Linked DNA regions of Homo sapiens: region 2 is linked to region 1. Evidence: promoter capture Hi-C in human tissues and cell types (Jung and others, 2019). All regions are on one chromosome and are shown on one strand. The core of a region is centred on a gene start or on the middle of the fragment in contact, and the rest is flanking DNA. Distances in the headings are between cores, read along the strand shown.

Region 1 (3,220 bases), core at 522-3,021:
CTCCGGTTACTCAAAGGTTTGCCCCAGTGTTTCTCCCCCTTTAAAAGACTCCATTCCTAGGCCTTCCTGCTCCATTCCCTCATGCCCTTCCCTGGCTTTCTCAGATTTTCATTTTCATTTCCCTTCCCATTTCTACAAAGGCAGGATGTAGAGGAAGGCCAGCAGAGGGCAAAGAGCCCGAGAGCCGGGATCAGGAGACAGGAACGTGTTGGCGTGTGGCTCTAAGCGAACCAAAGAGACTGTCTCTGGTCATCCGTGTTCCCCACTGTTGGTGAGGCTGGGTCACCCAGGCCAGAACTCAGTGCCATGGGTTGTGCCAGTGTTGGTGCTGTGGCGGATGCAAGGAATGGGACTCTGCTCTGGCTTGTGCACACCTACCGAGTAACAAAATCTTCATGTCTCTCTCTGATACATGCACACATATTCAGATAACTAGATAGACAGGGAGATAGATAGATATATGGATAGATTAGATAGATAGATGATAGATAGATAGATAGATAGATAGATGATAGATAGACAGATAGATGATAGAAAAATATCTGTCAGAATAAAAACATAATCCTATAGGCCAATAAGGACTCAATCAAAATCTTACAGGGTCACTGAATCAGAATCATTCTTCCCCTGAACTCACTTTCATGACTCTTTGCAATCAGGTGTATCTGTCCACCCCATTTTTTTCACAGTTGGGTGAAATGAGGAAGTAGTGTAAGGCTGGTTTTTCTTTTGCTGCCACAAAGGTCTACATAACTGCTGGTTCCTGTTCACAGTGAAAATGGTCCTAACCAGATGAATAAGGGACACAAGAGACATAACACAAATCAGAGAAGTTAAAACCAAGCTTATTCCTAAGTGCAACTAGCCTAAGCAAGCTCATGCCTGCCTGCTGAAGCCCCAAGTCTTCTACCTTGATAAAGGTTACTCCCTCCATTTTAACTGCTCCTGCCTCCCCTATCTTTTTTCGAACACCATGGCTGATTTATCTAAACCCTATGCTGCTTCACAGTATTTTGAAAACAAATTAGAAATCTCCTTCCAGTTTTCCAGAGGTGATTAAATCCAAGACGCCTTAGGAATGTAGAGGATAGAATAATATAAACAACAGATCTGAGATAACCATGGCCGGCAGCAGTTGTGGTTAGTTGCTTCTTTTCCTTTTTCATCCATCAGTGATGGAAGCTGGATTGGGTCCACTGTATAAAGTTCGGTGGGCATAAATCTGCTATTTGATCCTGGAAAAACTCTAAGGATCTAGAGTCAGCGAGGAATTGCAGCAATGCTGGTGTTTCAAAGGGCCTAAGAAAAGCCAGGAGTCCTGGCTGCCCAGCCCCGACACTGTCTTACAGGCTGCAGGTTTACCTTGGTTAGCACAACAGGCCAAGCTCTCCCTTGCTCTAAGTCGACATGACATGATTTGTTCCCTTTCGGCTGTGTCAGTTCTGCAAACCAGATACCAGAGGCTGCAGGCTCAGGAGAGCCTGCCTGTCTGGAACACCGTTTGTTTGGACAGGACAGGCCACTAAGGCGTTTCATCTCTTTAAAGCTCCCAGGGCAGAGAACATATTTGAGGAATTCCTTTTTTCAAAGATTTTTTTTTTTTGCCCCTTCCAACATTTTGTTTAAGAGAAAATGAGATGTCTATCTTCTGTTTCCTTATTTTTTTTCAGGAAAGCAAAGGGTTGTTGACTTCCTCCCTCTCCCCTCCCTTCCTTCCTTCTTCCCGAAGGTACTCATCTGAGAAAAAGAGAACGAAGTATTGTTCCTGTTCTCTTTCTTAAGTCATTCGAAACACTGTCCCTGCGAGTTCTTTAAGTTCCCTGCAATCTGTACACAAGAGAAAGAGGGAGAGAGAGAGGGAGAGAGACAGAGAGAGCAGGGATCAGGTAAAGGAGTGGGGCTGCTGCAGCCATTCAGACCTCAGGAGCTGGTAAGTTACCCATGCAATCATTTCTGCTTCCTTTTCAAGGTTCCTGGGTGGATACTGCTGTGGGCATCTTCAACAGAAAATACCTTACTGGGAGTAGTCCTTAACCAAAGGGTATAAGTGATAGATGGCCCAGAATTTCAGCTAATACTTTTTTTTGGTAAGAGAATACTGATGCTTTGCAGAACTAAGGCTGGCAAAACTAGAAATAGAATTACATTGGGACTAAAGAGGACACTGCGTTAAATCTGAATTTTGGCACAGATCATGTGGCTGGGAGAACCAGGAGCCACTGGCGTGTGAGATGTGTCCCACTGGAGAATTTGCTCTTCCTCAGTACTGTGTCCTGGGAGCCTTATCAGGGTGTCTGTTAAGGACTGTGGTTTGCTCTGGGGTTTTTGTTAATACGTTACCTGGATTGAGGTGCCCTTCTCCTGTTCTTTTCTTTCCATTCAGCATCCCCCTAAAGGAGGATTGTTAATTGTTATATGATGGTTATTCTGCATCACTGAAGTAGAAGGGAAAGAGAGAAGGGAATGTCACTTGGAAATAGTTCTGCATGTGGGGAGCTTATGTGTTCAGGTTCCCCATGCGGGTTGAGTGTAAATTTATTATTCACTGTCAGTGGAAGATGTCATCTGCCACATGATAGAAGGCAAAGGTTTTGGGGCATATAGCTTTAGTTTTGGAAAACAATATGCAGCTAGAATGGGAGGATTAAGATGGATCATTTATGTCAGTAGGAGGGAAAAACTAAGTTACAGACGCAATTGAAAAGCATTCACCCAGTGCCTGGTTTTCCAAGCACCAAATAGGGCGTAGCAAGCTAGTCAAGCTAACATACACAACTAGTTTTTAAAAGTCTAACTTGCTTCAATTAGATTAGTCATAAAGGATAATGTTACCAGCACCTATCATCGCAAGCCATGAGGGAGCCGAAATCATGTTGTCAAAAATAGGTCAGCAAGGTCACTCCGAGAGACTCGTTATGTTTCCCAATATTAATACTTTAATTCAGAGAGATGCCGAATGGGTAAAAGCCAATGGCCAAGCATACTTTTTAAAAATATTCACTGCTATGAAATTTACTGATTGAAATCACCTGGGATGTGAAGAATAAGATAAAAATAGCTGGACTCTCATTTTAAAAATTAATTTGGCTAGACTATGCTTTAACCACATTCAAGTAATTAATCTTTATTCAAAATTGAACCATCATCTTACTAAGGATGAGAAAACATGACAGAACTAGACTGTGATGTAGCTTTTGTTCCATTAGTCAGACCTCTTTTT
Region 2 (3,220 bases), core at 358-2,857, 56 kb before region 1:
AAAGTGTTGGTATGGACCCCACCAATGGCCACACTCTAGGAAACTATGGAAGCTGTGACTGGTGTTTTTGTTCCTTTTCTGTTTATTCAGATCCATCCCTTTGCTTTTTCTTCCAGATAGAATCGTCCAGAGGAAATGCCTTTTTACAGTCACAACTCTAAAAAGTTCAGTCTTTATTCAATATTTCTTCAGAGCTGCTATGTGTTGAATGCTAGCACTGAGATAGACGCTAGTGAGCAAGGAGAAAACAAGACAAATGGGATCCCCATGTTCCTGACATGTACAAGGATTTGTGTGTGTGTATGGTGTGTGTGTGTGTGTGTGTGTGTGTGTGTGTGTGTTTAGATGGCACGGCCTTGAAACAGGAAAGCAGAAAAATAAGTGAAATGATTATCAGACTATGTATTGTGATAAGAGCTATAAAGTAGACAAAGGGCTGAGATAGAGGAAATGGCAGAGCAATGATGTGTCCATCTGGGTGTGGGGAGGTGATTATGGCTTGGATCTGTTTTCCCACCCAAATCTCAGGTTGAATTGTAATCCCCAGTGCTGGAGGTGGGGCCTGGTGGGAGGTGACTGGACCATGGGGGTGGATTTCTCATGAATGATCTAGCACCATCCCCTTGGTACTGTCCTTATAATAGTGAGTTCTTATGAAATCTGGTGGTTTACAAACGTGTGGCACCTCCTTCCCCCCCACATCCTGCCCTCGCCATGTGATAATGCCTGCTTTTCCTTCACCTTCCACCATGATTGTAAGTTTCCTGAGGCTTCCCCAGAAGCCAAGCAGATGGCAGCATCATGCTTCCTGTACTGTCTGCAGAGCCCTAAGCCAATTTCACCTCTTTTTCTGTATAAATTGCCCACTCTTAGGCATTCCTTTATAGCAATGTGAGAGCAGATTAATATAGGAGAGGTGCAAGGTGAGTGGGTTGCTTTTGAGTTTGTAGCCAGAGAAGGCCTCTTTGCTAAGGAAAGCAGCTACACCAAGAGTGGAGACCTGATTGGGTGGGTGAGAGTGACCAGTGGAAGGAATTACTGCATCTTCATAGCAGCTGGGAAGATGGATGCACTAGTATCCTCTTCTCTACACACTAGAATACATGAAATTTTTATCTGTGAGATTAAGTTTAGCTATCAAAAAGAATGTCCTAAGCTCACATATATTCACATGTATGTGAATATATGAAGCATTGTCAAGTCTCCTTAAGGCCAGTCTGGAACTGCTCAGCAGGCCCCACCTTCTTTAGCACAGGCTCCAGAGGAAGTGGGCTCAGTGTGTTGCCTCTTTCAGTGGTGAAGGCAAGCCGGGATACTGTGTGCAAAGTTTGGGACTGAAAATAATCTCCACTTAAAAAAAATCCTTCCATCAGGAGGAGATCGAAGAATGAAAAATAGAATCAAATAATAATAATTGTTGTCGTTATTATTTTTATTAGATTATCTAATTTATGCCAGGCTCTTTCTAATTATTTTACAAGTTTATTTTAAGCCCTGACTCATCTGCATGAAGTAGGAATTATTGTTATCCCAATTTTACAGATAAAGACAATGAGGCCCAGAGAGCTCAAAGTGCTTGCCCAAGGTTCCAGAATGCATTCCCTTAACCTTAGGCAACACTGCTTTGGAGGGGTTAGTTTCATATGAGTTAGTTTCATATGAGTATTTTAGGTAGCACACATTAGGTAGCACAACATTAGAAAGTAAGAAGTTCTTTTCGGAGTTAAGAGAATGCCAGTTTTCCATTTGAGAGTGAGATTTCCCATCATCTCCAAATTAGAATCTCTGGGTGTAGAACTCAGGTATTTGCACTTTCTAAACACTGTTTGCACTTTCTAAACACTGTTTGCGAAGCATGGTTGTGTGGGCACTCACAAGTATGGAGCCAAGAGAGTAGACTCTGAATTCCTTCAAAAATAATAATACTAATAACAACAACAACAATAATAATAGTGATAATAATGCTATTTCTTGAGTGCCTTCTCTGGGTTAGACATTTAGCTGTTTCCATGTGTGATTATATTTAATGTTGACAACTCTACAAGAACTGTATGATTTTTTACCTTTTACAAATGAGGATAAATCTAAACTCAGAGAGATAAGTAACTTGCCTAAAGTCATATAGACAGAGAGTTGCAAATCTGATGTTCAAACCTCATCTGCCTGTTCATGTTCCACAACTTCATGTTTGTTATCTGCAATTCTATAGGCTCATTTTTAGATTACAGAGATCAACCTAAAATTTTTGATCTTGTCTCATCTCAAAACATAACCAAATGAACAAATGACATTTTTCCAGGTATATGGTCTTTGACAAGTTGCTTAGCCTCTCATTTTCTTACTTATAAGATGAAAATAGTAGTGCCTACCTCATGAGTTTGTTGTAAGGATTAAATGGGATACTCCATGTATAGCCTGGAAAGCACCTGGCATTTGGTAAGCACTCAATAGATGTAGCTGCTCTCACTAGTACCATGATTATACTGCCCAACTCTTCCTAAGTGAATTTATGCAATTGTTCCATAATTAGAATTTCTGTCCACCAATATTGATTGCTGGTTTCCTCTTGGCCATATTGAACTGACAAAGATCAACCTACTCCTTAATAAGCAAAAACAAAGAATCCTCAGACGTCTGTGACTATTCCTGTGTTCAAACTTCTTTCTCCCAACTGACTTCCAGGAAGATATGCCGCTTCGTCAGCTGAGCTCTAGTTGCCAATCTGCAAAGTCACTGTCTCCTTCCTACTATCTTCCCTTTATCGGGGAAACTTACACTTTTCACCCATCATTGACATCCTCTTCATTCAGTCACTCATTCATCCAGCAAATATTTATTGAAGACCTATTCTGTGTCAGGCACTCATTATTCCAGGCACCATAGATGCAGCAGTGAACAAAGATCTCTGCCTTTTTGAAGCTTACATTCTAATGGGAGCTGAGCAAGACAGACATAAACAAGTTGAGTATAACATATGTTAGCTGGTGATAAGTTCTATGGAGGAAACTAAAGCAGGGAAAGGGGATAAGGGTTGCAGGGAAGCAGGGAAAGGGGGTGATGCAGTTTTATGTAGCATTGTTAGAGAAGCCTTCACAACAGGAATATTTCAGCAAAGGCTTGAAGGAGGTGAGGGAGTGAGTCATGAGGATTTCCGGGGAAGAATTTGCCAGGTAAAATTTAGCACATAAATAGTCCTTGAGGCAGATACCTTTAAGTGGCT

What was found. The method cuts DNA at HindIII sites, captures the fragments that hold promoters and counts their contacts. A contact is called where the count stands out against the background at its distance.
Region 2: a contact is called between a fragment that was not itself captured here and the fragment with the promoter of ZNF366 in region 1, in 1 of the 25 tissues and cell types used here (hippocampus).

The regions. Positions count from the first base shown.
Region 1 is chr5:72,505,961-72,509,180 of GRCh38, reverse strand. ZNF366 (zinc finger protein 366) reads left to right here and starts at 1,771. Exons shown (of 5, transcript NM_152625.3): 1 at 1,771-1,930. The HindIII fragment of the contact is 10,357 bases long and covers 1-3,220 here.
Region 2 is chr5:72,561,411-72,564,630 of GRCh38, reverse strand. The region is part of intron 1 of LOC102503427 (a long non-coding RNA gene); the gene reads right to left. Among named protein-coding and RNA genes, the nearest start is that of ZNF366, 56 kb to the right of the region's middle. The HindIII fragment of the contact is 5,034 bases long and covers 1-3,220 here.